Regions from separate parts of the Homo sapiens genome. Here all the other regions are linked to region 2. The links are contacts of gene promoters, found by promoter capture Hi-C in blood cells and fetal thymus (Javierre and others, 2016). All regions are on one chromosome and are shown on one strand. The core of a region is centred on a gene start or on the middle of the fragment in contact, and the rest is flanking DNA. Distances in the headings are between cores, read along the strand shown. Region 1 overlaps COL13A1 (collagen type XIII alpha 1 chain). Region 2 holds the start of COL13A1 (collagen type XIII alpha 1 chain). Region 3 has its middle 8.9 kb from the start of FAM241B.

The links. The method cuts DNA at HindIII sites, captures the fragments that hold promoters and counts their contacts. A CHiCAGO score of 5 or more calls a contact.
Region 1: a fragment that was not itself captured here is called in contact with the fragment with the promoter of COL13A1 in region 2 in 1 of 17 cell types (endothelial precursors); the score reaches 5.3 in endothelial precursors.
Region 3: a contact is called between a fragment that was not itself captured here and the fragment with the promoter of COL13A1 in region 2, in 1 of 17 cell types (endothelial precursors). The highest score is 6.6, in endothelial precursors.

The regions. Positions count from the first base shown.
Region 1 is chr10:69,930,869-69,935,157 of GRCh38, forward strand. COL13A1 (collagen type XIII alpha 1 chain) reads left to right here. Exons shown (of 41, transcript NM_001368882.1): 31 at 1,692-1,736. Among named protein-coding and RNA genes, the nearest start is that of LINC02636, 76 kb to the right of the region's middle. The HindIII fragment of the contact is 1,657 bases long and covers 1,817-3,473 here.
Region 2 is chr10:69,800,562-69,804,999 of GRCh38, forward strand. COL13A1 (collagen type XIII alpha 1 chain) reads left to right here and starts at 1,345. Exons shown (of 41, transcript NM_001368882.1): 1 at 1,345-2,156. The coding sequence starts at 1,863. LOC124902444 (a long non-coding RNA gene) reads right to left here and starts at 1,210. Exons shown (of 2, transcript XR_007062179.1): 1 at 485-1,210. The HindIII fragment of the contact is 5,096 bases long and covers 1-3,215 here.
Region 3 is chr10:69,636,832-69,641,419 of GRCh38, forward strand. No RefSeq gene overlaps it. Among named protein-coding and RNA genes, the nearest start is that of FAM241B, 8.9 kb to the left of the region's middle. The HindIII fragment of the contact is 4,509 bases long and covers 882-4,588 here.

The DNA.
Region 1 (4,289 bases), core at 1,395-3,894, 130 kb after region 2:
TTGGGAAAGAGATGAAGACATGGTTTAGAGCTGCCTCTTTGGAAAGTGTACAGAAGCCCTATACCCGGGAGAGGCTGCATGTACAGAAACGGGGCCTTCGCCCAGTCCACTAGGCTGCTAACTTGACTTAGGGGCCTTCTCTGGGTCTCAGGGGTTTCCATCTGTGAAATGGGTGCCATCCTAGACACCTACCCTTGGAGCAAGGGAGCCACATCCTGTGCAGGCCACAGTTGGTCACACTCAGCAAGACCACCTTGAGCTCCACTAACAGAAATCATTGTCAGTCTGTAGGGTCTAGATGGCCCAACTGGGGAGAGGAGAACATGGTGGCCAGAGCAGACCCAGAGTGGCAGGATTGCCTAATCCAGCTGGGCTCCTGAGGTTTACAGTGAAGCCAGAGGGCTGGGTGTCAAGGTTGCCTGCAGGCAGCCACAGATGAGGGTCCTCCTGGGGGCCACCAGCCTAGTGGGTGCCTGACACTGTGACGAGGCTGCCCTAATCCCAAGCCTGCCGACCCAGCCTGGGAGCAGGCAGGGAGGGTCCTCTTAACAAGCAGCTACTTCATTTGAGTGTAAACAGGAGTTGCATCTTCCTTGGCTCACGGTATGATGGCCTCTAGGAGCACCAACCTAGTTCGACGGTGCTAGAATCTTGGTCTCAGAATTCTCCTCTAGGAAGTGGAAAGAGCCTCAGAGGTCAACCAGTCCCAAGTCTGACCCAGTGCAGGACTCCTCACTCAACCGGCACAGGCAGGCAGCTCACTGCCTCCAGACCTGTCCACTGCACCATGGGGCAGCCCCAGGATGGAGGGAGCATTCCTGGATATGGTGTGGAAGCTCCCTTGTCAGCCTCCCCGAGTTGACCCCTCAGAGCCTCTGGCCTCTGGAGCCATATTTATTATCTATTGCTGCATAACTAATCACTGCAAACGTAGCGGCCTAAGAAAATACACACTTATTGGCACATAGTTTCTGTGGGTCAGGAATTCAGGCACATCCTAGTTGGGTCCTCTGCCCATGGTCTCATGAGGCTGCAATTAATGTCTCAGCCAACTGTATTCTCATCTGGAGCTAGGGATCCCCTTCCAAGCTACTGGTATTGGCAGAATCCAGTTCCTTGCTGGAACAGAACTCAGCTCCTAGAGGCCACCTACAGTTCCTGCCACCTGCGCCCCTGCCCTCCCCACCTCCCGCAGAGTAGACAGTTCACATTATAGCAACTGGCATCTTCAAGGACAAGGCCAGCAGTAGGGTCTCTCTAGTGTCTAGTGCTAGCAAGACAGAGCTGTGTGCACGTGTGTTTGTGTGTTCATGTAACATATTTGTAACATAATCTTAATATATGTTATATGTCACCATCTGTATGACATGTATGTTATAATCTGCAACATAATCATAGAAGTGAGGTCCCACCACCTTTGCCATGTGCCTTACTCCACGGCTAAGAAACAAGTCACAGGTCACCCTAAGGCCTGTACGCTGCAGAGTCCACAGAGAGTATCAGCCTCTCCTCCCCTGTACTAGAGCCTCAGATTCTGTCCTGCAGGCTGACACCTCCACATCCTCCATGGTGTTCCTTGTTGACCCCTAGACCAGTCACGTCCCAGTCTAGTTTGTCACAGATGTGAGGGTGCGTCTGTCCCAGGCTTTCACAAGGGCTGGCATTCATGCAGTGGTGTTTTGTGCCCACAGGGAGAGAAAGGAGAAGCCGGGGAGAAGGGCAATCCAGGAGCAGAGGTACATGAGAGATAATTTGACAGAGACTCATCAAGCGACAGTCTCTGCAGCATGCACAGTATTTCTGTGCTTTAGAATGAAGCTTGCAACTGCCTGATGTTTACGTTTACTGAGCACCACCATAGGTCAGGCACTGATCCTCTGGACTGCTCCAGTCTTCCCAAACCACATCTCTCAGCAACCTTCACAGAGCACCTCCCATGCTTCCATCCTGGTGCTAGAGTCTGGAGATACGAAAATAAACAGAACTTGCCGGGCACGGTGGCTCACGCCTGTAATCCTAGCAATTTGGGAGGCTGAGGCAGGCGGATCACCTGAGGTCGGGAGTTTGAGACCAGCCTGGCCAATATGGTGAAACCCCATCTCTACTAAAAATACAAAATTAGCCAGGAGTGGTGGCAGGTGCCTATAATCCCAGCTATTCGGGAGGCTGAGGCAGGAGAATCACGTGAACCCAGGAGGCAGAGGTTACAGTGAGCCAGGATTGTGCCACTGCACTCCAGCCTGGGCAACAGAGTGAGACTCTGCCTCAAAAAAAAAAAAAAAAAAAAAAAAAAAAAAAACAGAACCATCCCTCCACAGCTCACAATACCCCATAATGGGCACTAGCATGGGAGCAACTCAGGGAATCGGGCAAGCATCCCAAAAGACTTTCTATTTGGGCAGAGTCTTGACGGCTTTGTAGGAGTTTGCCACAAAGTTTCAGAGGTAGGCTTTCCAGATAGAGGCATTATTCTTTTGAGAAGTGTGGTGAAAGGAAGAGAAAACAGAATGGCTGAGTGAGAATAGTCAGGATGGAGGCAAGGTTTTCAAAAGACAGCAGAGAATCAGGCATATTTGCGGGCTCAGGGGCAAGAACCCGGAAAGCAACGGAGATCAAGGATGCGTGAGAGACAGGATGTTTGGTGGCGGGGTCTGGGCAACCCAAATAGCACCTCAGACCCATGGGAGAGACCACCAAGCCTTCTCAGTCCCCATCAGGGTGGGTTCACCTTGCCAAGCCCCGTCTGAATGTAGTGAAACAGGCCTGATTGTACAATGTGTATGGTACTTGTTTCGAAATGGATAGCCTCCTAAAGAAATGATCCTAATTCAGGAAAAGCATTATACGCACATTGTCCCTCCAAGAAGTATTTAAAATAAACATTAGAAACACTCTAAATTTTATCAAGAAGGAAAGGATTAAATAACTTATAGTAATAATACTAATAGTAATAATAGTCACCACGTCTGAGCACTTCCCTCGTGCCAAGCACCGCACTAAGCCCTGGGTATGTAACAACTCATTTTCACTCCACCCAGTGAATAGCACAGCACCGTTACCAGGAAGCTGGTGGCGAACATATAAAAAATGGAAACATCAGTTTCACAGTAAGTGAAAAAGAGTTGAAAACGAAATTTTATACATATATGAAATCATAAGCATATACATATATGTATATACAATTCTACACATATTATATGTAAATATCAAAAGTATATACATATATTCAAGCACATCTGATACATCAAGAAAATGTTTAAATTTTCTCTTTAAAGAAAATTTTAAAAATTCTTTTTATTCTTTTTATTATTTTTAAAATTACCACCCAGGTAAAATTGACTTCTTCTGGAATGTGTCCAGTTCTGTGAATGTTAATGCATGTAGAGATTTGTATAACCAATACCATGATTAGGATACATAAACCACTTACTTATAATAAGAATTAAAATGGTAAACTTTTGTTAAAAATGGGAAGCTTTTTTTAAGAAGGCAGAGTTTCCAAAGACTGTGTTCCCTCCAAGGAGACTGTGATGGAGCGACAAAGTCCACAGGTCCAGGAAACAATAGGGACCTCCTGTCTGCCCAGTGTAGGGGTGCCCTCTGTCGTGGCCTGGCACAGGAGTCACTCCCCTGGCCATGCTCCAGGGAATTCTACCCCTGGGAAGACGAGGCACCTGAGGAGAGCCCTGAAGCCGAGGCGGGGTGAGCAGCTCAGAAGGACCCAGCAGTGGCTGCCTGTGGATGAAAGGATGTGTGTGTTCATCAGAGACAGAAGCTGCAATGGGCACCACCCTCTGTAGAGGAGGCAGCCCTGAGCTCCTCCATCTTCACTGTCCAGTCAGAATCTCCTCTAGCACAATCTGCATCTGCTCTCAAGGGAAACAGAGACCAGCAGTCCCCATCCTGTCTGTAACAAACCTTGGGGACTTGAGGAGCAATCTCCAGGAACAGCTCAGTCTCCCCACATTCCAGATAACCAATCTCTGCTTCTCTAAGCCAAGGGTCTCAAACTCAAATGTCTACAAGGGTCAGGCCTGCAAAAAGTGACTGCAAGAGCGCTGGATCAAAGACAATAAGGAGTGGTGAGGACTGGGGTAAACTGAAGGTGTCATGCCCCACCTAGAGGGGAAAGCTCTAATTCCACTCCAGGCTGTTGTTGCCATGCATGAACAAGAACCTAGTGCTGCTAGATCTTCTGGTGTTTTTTTTGTTTTTTTTTTTCCAAGAAAAATCTGGAAGAATAGATCTTTAGGGACAGTTCCTGGAAATTTGCTTTTTCAACATTGAGC
Region 2 (4,438 bases), core at 95-2,594:
TGTTACAAGTCCAATATGCACTATTAAGTGTGCCACACTTTATTAGAAGTGCAGTGACACTGTATTATATATCAAGTTCCATCAGGTCAATATAGAAAATGGGAAGTTTGTACTGGCATGCCTTGTTATTTTGAAATGGAATCCCAGCACCACTGCTGCCCCCACCTCCACTGCATATTTGAAAACCCAGTCTACTCTCCTCTGCCCGCTGTTCCAGGAAGACAGGCTTTCTCCCAAAAACTCAGTCCCACCACCTCATTCACAGGAATGTCAACAGGCACAAGGAGATAAAGTCTCTTGGGATACAAATGCTACTTAATGTGGGGGGTGGAGGAGGTGACAAGAGAAGAGAGAAAACTACCAAATGCCCTTCAGGCCACCAGTTTTTCTCTAGTGGAATATAGGAAATGACAACAGGAGAGAGCCTGGTTAGCCCTAAGCCTCCCGCAGGGATGGAACCTGAGTTTGTGTAGGAATTGCTCACCTTTGATGACTGGGATGATTGAGGCAGGCTGGTCTCACCACACAGGGATAGATGGCATGGGTCTCAGATTAATGGCAGGCAAGAAGGGGAGATGTCAGGACTGGCAGGCGGCCCCAATGAGCCACCTCTCAGATACCTGGAATAAGATCTCCTCCGTTTTCAGTGTCTCATACTACCTCAGGTCTTGGTCCTGAGAGGAAGGGCTGCCAGCTCTGCTGCCCCCTGGAGGGCTGACTTTTCACCCCAGAGTAAAGATGTGGTTGGCCGCCCGGCACTGGAGGAGCTGCAGATCTCAGGAGGTACAGAGCCCCCGGGGAGTCGGTTGTCGGGGGAGAAGGAAGGGGAAAGAGGTTGGGGGCTTGGGAGTAGAGGAGCGGTGGCTGAAGGGATCAGGTAGTCCTGATCAGGACGTGGAGATCCACCCACAAGCCCTGACAATAACTCAGTCGAGTTCCTGGAGGGTCTCAAGGGCTGGGAAAGGTGGAGTGGTGCCTGCCCCAACGCGTCCATGGAAGGTGGTGCCCGCCTCACCGCCTCCGTGGAAGGCCAAACGAGCCCTCGGTGTGAATCCGGAGAAAGAGAGGGAAGTGCAGCGCCAGCTCCACTCCACACCCCCTTCCTGCCTATAAATAACCCCAAGTGTCACTTCAAAGAGGACGGGGAGCGCGGCAGAGGGGCTCCCGGGCCGGCGGGCTGGGGCCGCCGGACCTGCTCACCACGCCCCCCACCCTGGGCGAGTTTGCATAAATAAACAAATCCAAGCCGTCGGCCCCGCGGGAGGTGGAGGAGGAGTGACGAGGAGGAGGAGGAGGAGGGAGGGGGGAGGGAGAGATTAGTTTGGGAAGTAGCACGGATTGCTCATCCGATCCGTGCCGCCGCAGGGAGTGTGTCAAGTTACAGAGGCGCCGGAATCGGCCCCTGCGCTCCTCGCCAGCCGCCACGACCCACCTCTGCCCATGGGGCCCTCCGTGTGCGCCCCTTCGCCCGGGGACTGAAACTGACTGGCCCGGGAGACACGAGGCGCCCAGAAGGACTGACAGCGCGGCACCAACTGCTCTGCAGACACTTGAAGGGAAAGACTGGGCGGAGAGAAGGAGAGCCGGTCAGATTCCCCTAACTTTCCTGGACTTGGAACGTTCTTCGAAATAACTTTTTTCTCACCTAGGTGTACCCCAATTACCGCTGGTTGTGCTTTTTCGGCACTTCCTCTCCTACTGCTAATTTTTCCGTCCTCTTTGCCGGGAGCAGCGGAAAGGGACGTTTTCCAGCGATACAAGCCCTTTCCCCCTGCCCCGCAGTTTGGATAGAGCCTTTTGGCAGCGGCTGTCGCCTTTATTTATTCTATTTATTTATTTATTGGTTCTCAAGACGCGAGAGGATGGTAGCGGAGCGCACCCACAAAGCGGCAGCCACCGGTGCCCGCGGCCCTGGGGAGTTGGGCGCGCCCGGGACGGTGGCTCTGGTGGCGGCGCGGGCGGAGCGCGGCGCACGGCTGCCGAGTCCAGGGTCGTGCGGGCTGCTGACGCTGGCCCTCTGCTCGCTGGCACTCAGCCTGCTCGCCCACTTTCGGACGGCCGAGCTGCAGGCCCGGGTGCTGCGCCTGGAAGCGGAGCGCGGGGAGCAGCAAATGGAGACGGCTATTTTGGGACGAGTCAATCAACTGCTGGACGAGGTCTGTGCTCTTTGTTGCTGGCTTTTATCCCTCCCCGCGGCGCCCCCTCGCGCAGCCTCCAGACTGTTCAGCCGGTGTCCGCGGGCGCTCGCTCTCTGCGAGCCCCAGGTTCGCGCGAGTTGCCTGCGGGAGGGGTCGGGGACACGGACAGACGCTGCCCTACCAGGGATTCGGAGGACCTGGTGGGCAAGAGCATGACCCAGCGACTCCCGCCTCGGGCAAGCGCCCCCGGCTTCCAGCGCTGGGAGCGCCCTGGGCACGCCGGGCAGGTGGAGGAAGGCTGGGCGCGCGGAGGCTCGCGGAGGCGGGCAAGCTCCACTCCTCCCTTTCGGGACCCGGCCAGGGTGGTGTGACAGCCGCCCCGCGCCCGCGCAGCGGCAAGCGCGCCCAGAGGCCCAGGCCGAGGCTTACTGAGCCCCCATGGCCCTCCCCCTCCACCCCTTAAGGACCCGGGGGGTGCGGGGAGAGGGGACAGTTCTTGCAGGGGGTGGTGCCCTGGTCTCTGCTCACTGGCCCAGGCCGCTAGGGTCCAAGTGTGGGTCGCCTGGCTCTGCTGTCCTTGGCCACAAATTAGTCCACACCTTCTTTTTCCTAAACCAGGTTTCTTATTTTTCTGGAGAAAGGATGCTTTCTTCCATTCTCCAAATTTTTTTGATCCAAGTAGATTAAACACTACTAGCGTGTCAGGTAGCTATGGCAATCTTCGGAATACAGGAAAAGGCTGTCCCCTCCCCAGGAAGGAGGGACATGCAGCCTCTTTGTGCCACCAGAGGAAAGGCTGGGCCTTGACAGGGTGAGGCTTGATGATCTGTGGGAATCTGGACAGCACAGGGGATTCAGGGCCCAGATAGAGAGGAGGACAGGCAGGTGGGGGCCGCAGCAGTCTGGGAAGAGGTCCTGGAGCAGGTCCTGGCCATGGAAGGTCCTGGCCATGGAAGGTTTCCATGGGGAAGAAATGGGAGAGGATATCTTACTTAGCTGGAGGGAGTGTGCAGCAGTAAAGATCACGGTGGTAGAGGCCAGCAACCCTGGGTTTTTATCCCCACTCTGCTACTTGGAAGCTTGGGACAAACGCTCCAACCCCTCTGAACATGCGAAACAGTGCTGATGTAGCAAACACTGGAGCACAGCTCTAACTGTGGTGGGTGGGGTGCTGTGAGCATTTTGGCAAGATGTACCTATTCCCTATAGCCAGGCTCTTCTCAGCTGCCCCTGCCAGGCTGGCACCTGCTGGAGCAGTTCTCCAGGGTGGCCAAGGAGGAGATTGCAGGGCCAGAGCAGAGAGAGCGGTCACAGGGCAAGCGTACTGGTGCTAGTGGTGCACCCATGACTGCTGCTGTCAGCTCATTCCCACGCCCTGCCAGGCTCCAGGGAATCCGGAGAACTCCATCGGGCCGTCCATGGTTCCCTGGGCCTGGGGTGGAGGTGCAGCATCTCTGGGCTCAGGCAGAATGAGCCCAGACTGGCTGGGTGGTGAAGAAGGTGTCAGGGCAGTGAGAGCTCCTCCAGGTATCTCGGGGGTCCTGGCTGCTGAGGGATAAGCATCTGATTTTCAGGGTTTAGCACAGCCCCTCTCTCCATGCTTTCCCCTTCCCAGACCTTCCTGCTGGCCTGACCATGCCCTGGCCTTTTCTAGCTTCTTGCTTCCACTGCTTCAGACTTAGACATGCCAAGTCGCATACTCTAGGGGCCTTGGGGCTAACTATTGTATCCGACATGCTCACTCCTTCCCTCCAAGCTGCAGCTCCATATTTACCCTACTGAATACAATCTTTTCAACTGCTAGATATGAAAGTTATCCCAGAGAGCATCTGAACTGAACCCCATTTTTCAGATGGGGAAGTTGAGCCCAGAGTCACATGGCGAGGCCCAGGACTAGAACCTCAGCCTCCTGGCCCTGTATACAATGTTCTTTGCGCTGTATCCTGCCACCTTTTTTTTTTTTTGGCCTATTCTCATTCATTCATTCAGAAAATGTTTACTGAGAGCCTGCTGCGGGTCAGGCATTGTGGGAGACACTTTTGCCCTCCTAAACTTACATACAGGGAAGTAGTGCACAAAGAAGAAAATGGGCAGTGACCATGTCGTGTGCAAAAAAAAAAAAAAAAAAAAAAAAAAAAAAAAAGCTACAATAGTGAAAAAAGAGAGGGGCCTGGGGAATGCATTACATGCAACATTGTCTGATGGTGGTGGCAGTCATGGCAGGCTTCCTTAGGGAAATGATTTTCAAATGAAGAGCTGAAGGATGAATAGGAGTTTGCCAGGCAAAAGCGGGCGAGTGT
Region 3 (4,588 bases), core at 1,886-4,385, 160 kb before region 2:
AGCTGTGTGGGGGCAGAGGGCACAGAAGTTGGTGCAAGGGTGCTGGCTGCAGCTGCCCAGCTGGGTGGCCTCAGTGGCTTCCCAGTCCTGGGTCACAGTCATGGAGATTTAGCTCTCTTCCCTGCATTCCCGAATGCATATTTTCATTGCAAAGTGACAAATCCAGTGATCTCTCAAAGGGTTAAGTGGGGGCAGGGGAGGGAGGCAGCAGAGCTCTGCTGCCAAAACTAGATAGAGAACCTGCAGCCTGCCCAGCCAGTAGGACAAGCAAGCCTACCCCGCCTGGTGCTGCCACCCAGTGCCCAAAAGAGCAGCAAGAGAAAGTTCAAGAAGCAGGTAGAGTGAGAGCTTCAAAGAATTACAAAGGGGGTGTGTATGGAGGGGTGTATGTGTGTGCCTCTGAGCCTCTGGTTTGAGGCTGGGGGCAGGGCTGAAACCAAATGGCTTTAGGGACTCAGAGTTTGGAAGGAGAAGGTTGGAGCTACTTGAGATGAAGCTGGAGGGCCACTGCCCCAAGTGCCCAGGCAGGTGGGGCACAGGGCTGGGAGCCAGGGCTGGTCTGCATTGGCCCAGCGGCCAGCTCCAGTCCCTCTGGTGGGCGGGGGCCCTGCTGGGGGCTGAATGCCTGCTTCCCATTCCCGGCTTCAGCTCTGTTAACCAGAGGCCTTGGCACAACCCAGCATCTCCCTAAACCTCCGTGTCCTCATCTGCACCTCCCACAGTGAGAGGATCAAGTACATTAATTCATGGGAAGCACTTAGCCGTTTCTGGCACAAGTTAGTGCTCAATGTTACTGTATTCACAGAGAAATGGTATTAGGACTCACTTAACATTTTTTTTTTTAACAGCAGCTCACATCTTAAATTAATTTTTTAAAAGGAAGCTTCATATTACTATTGTAAATGGAAAGCCAATACTACTTGCCATTCACAGTAGGTATTCGTACAAATGAATCCAGGACAAAACGAATGATATTCCATTTTAGCTAGTCACTGCCATTGTCCAAGCCCTTAGCCTGATGCCTGCTTTCTTTGTTAAAAAAGTCAGTTTATGAAGATTGGGAGTGGTGCAGAAGCCTCACTGGCCCCTCACTGAGACATTCTCCTCGATGGATTCAGAGGACTGAAGAGAAACAAAGAGGAATGACTTCCTCACCATCCGATTCGGTGCTGTGTTTGTAAATTGCTTATAATCATCTTGTGCACCACCCCAAATCATTTCACTCCCTGGCGGGTAAGAGTACCCCACAACTGCGGGAAACATGGTATGATCTTGAGCAAGCTATTTTAAAAGTCTTACTCTTTGTAAAGTAATGCATTCGTGTGGTTCAGATGATATAATGTACAAATGTATATAGAGAAAAGCCTTTCTCCCTCCTCTGTCCCCATCCATCCATCCCTCCTCCACTCCACTATAACTACTGTTCTTAGTGTCTTCTAAATACTTCCAGAATTTAGTTATGCAAATATGAGCAAACATGAATATACTATTTTTTCTTTTTTTATACAAATAATAGAAAAATTTGACACGTTTTTCTCTGCCTTTTGCATTTTTCACTTAGCAGTGTATCTTGGCACATTTTATATGAGTACATGAAGAGCATTTTCATCCTGCAGTATTTTGGTGTTTGAGTTGTCGACCCTGTCTTGGGCTCACCTGTACCATGGGGGATTGACTCAGTTGACCCTCAGGGCCTTGCAGCTCTGACCCTGAACCAACCCATGGGGTTTTTCCCTGAAATGTGGGGATCTTGACAGAACTGTCTCCCTTTCTCCAGGGCCCAAGGGGAGATATCACAACCTTATAGGGTTTCTCAGTCTCCTTTGCAGTTGGATAGGGTGCAATTTCTGCCCTCATCTGGCTCCTTGAAAAGGCGCAGTGGCCTCACCTGAACACTGCCTCCTGGGTCACACTGCACCCTGAGACGAGCTGAGAGGGACTCCCCACAACCTCTGACAGGCAGGGAGTGACCCCCGCCTGGCCTCCCTCATTCTGGAAAAACAAACAGGCTGGGCTAGACTTCCACGAAGGCCCCTTTCAGCTCTGAGACCGACACCTACCACAGAGGGCCTTGCCCTTAGTAGACGCTTGATGGACTTTGCTGCTGCCTGGCCTGGCATTGCCAACGTCATTGTCCAACACGTTGCTGTCCCCACTTCCTCTAACACCCCATTTTCTTTCTTTTTTAAAAAAAATTAACTTTTCAGTTCAGGGGTACATGTGCAGGTTTATTGTATAGGTAAACTTGTGTCATGGGGGTTTGTTGTACAGATTATTTCATCACCCGGGTATTCAGCCTAGTACCCACTCATTATTTTTCCTGATCCTCTCCCTCCTCTCATACTCCACCCTCTGAAAGGCCCCAATGTGTGTTGTTCCCTTTTATGTGTCCAGTAACACCCCATTTTCATGAACATCTGGATTAAGGAAGTTAAGAAAAGCCTTGAGGAGAGACCAAGACCCCAGCTTTCTTGCTCTGAACTGGGTAATGAACTCTCAATGCCCTTTTGCAGGGACCTGAGGGACCCCCACCACCTTGGTGTGTAGACTGGAAAGGTTGTGAAAGTTGTCTCATGGCGCCACCTGGTGGAATTTTTGGACAGGAGCAGGAACTCCCTCCTGCAAATATACTACAAATGGATTCATCTGCTCTCCTGCTCCCGGTTAGTGCTCACCTCAGCCAGCCCAGGCTTGGTATTACCTTGTATTTTGGAAAGGTTTCTGGTGGAGAGCATGCACAATTCCATTATAATTTCTCATTCACTGTGGTTTCGTCCTGGGTTGAGCCTAGTGCCGGGAACATTCATAAGTTTTGTTTCATTTCATCCTCTCCCAAGCAAAGAAAAATATATGTCCTTCCTTTTTCCCAGAGTAAAGGAATTTATATGTGGCCACAAAGTTGGCAGGCAGCAGATCTGGAGCCTGCCTCGCCAGCCTCCAGCAAACTGAATCTGGGAGCCCTAGGGAGGGTGGAAGGTGGCTGTGGAACCCCCAGGGAGAGGGTTTGTCGCCGGGGTCTAGTCTTGAACCAGACCTTCCAGTATTTGAGTTTTCAGCCTAGGAGACAGAGTGAGAAGTTTTAGACTTGGTGGCCCAGGGTTGCTGTGATCATGTTAGTGGAAGGGGCTTGCTTACTGTTTAAGGCTGCACTCTCTCTAGGTGGGGGTGGCTATGTCTAGCCCAGCCTTACCCAGTGCAGCACCCACCAACGCCTCACACTTGCCTGTCCTTACTCAGAGCCTGGCGCCAGGTGGTTCCCCTCAATGAACGTGATATTTGTGACATGGGGCCCATTGCCTAGCTCTTGTCTTTTTCACTGGAGGCAAGAAGCAGGCGAGTCAGACAGGCTCCCCATTTGGTAGCTTTGGGCAAGTTCCTTACTGTGCCTCATCTGTGAAATGGGGATGACGTGTCATCTAGGGCGGTGTTGAGCTGCAATTGGAAGACGTGTATGCAGTGCCTGGGGTGTAGCGGTGTGCCATGGATGAGGGTTTGTATCAGATCACCTCCTACAGGGCCCATTAGTGAAAATTGTCTGCCCTCAGTCAAGAAAATGTAAAATGCAATTTGCTTTCGAAATTCTGGGAGGAAAAAAAAATAGAAAAATTTCCCAATATGTCTGCTTACCAGTATCATGCAGTGAAGACATCTGCCTCTGAGGCATGGGCCTGTGTGAGCACGCTTGTCAGTCTATGAGGGGGTGTGTTTGTTTTTTCTTTTTTGCAGCTTTGAGCTCAGCTAATCCTGAGAAATCACTTTCTTCTGATGAAGTGGCTAAAATCTGGACGCTGTCAGCAAGGGAACATACAAGCCAACCACAAGTGCCTCCAACAGCGTGTTCCTTTTCCTGTGATAGTTGTTCTCAACCTAGCAACACCACCAGTTCATCTGGGCAGCTTTAAAACATGCAGCCTGGGTTCCAGTTCCAGAGCCATGAGCCAGCCTTCCTCCAGGTGGGAGCTGCCCTGTCCCCGGGGAGCAGGGTTTGTGGCTCCTTCCCTCTCACATGGCAGACTGAGTTTCTGAGGGCAGGGATCATGCTCAGCTCTTTTTTGTATTCCCAGTCCCAGACAGGGGCCCTGGCCCTTTGTCAAAACTTGGGGACTGCTCTGCAAACTGCATGAGAAGGCATGAGGCACTAGCCCAACTAAAGGGAGGAGGGGACCCCAAAAACAGAGCCCATTCTTCCTGCCTTGACTGGGTTGGATCCTGGTGACTTCTCTGTCACCTGTGTACTCAGGGACATTATTCTCAAGTTGTAAGTGCAGGTAGCTCTACCCCGCAGCACGTGTGGGATGAAGAAGGAAGGAAGAAAGAAAGGAGGGAGGCAGGGAGGGAGGGAGGAATGAAAGAACCTAGGTCAATAGTATAAATGTAGCTCTGAGCCGGGGGTCCCAAGGCTCCCTGTGACATCTGCCTGTATCCCAGCCTCTCTTTAAATGAAGAAGCAGCCTTCCTTGAAGACCCACCAGGTGGGAACTGCTGCCCACTCCAGAAGCCTGGGGAGGGTTTCTCTCAAGACTGTGGCATTCGCGCTTCTCTCTCCCTCCTCTGCTGCACTTGCTTTTCCTTGGAGTCAAGTGACAGG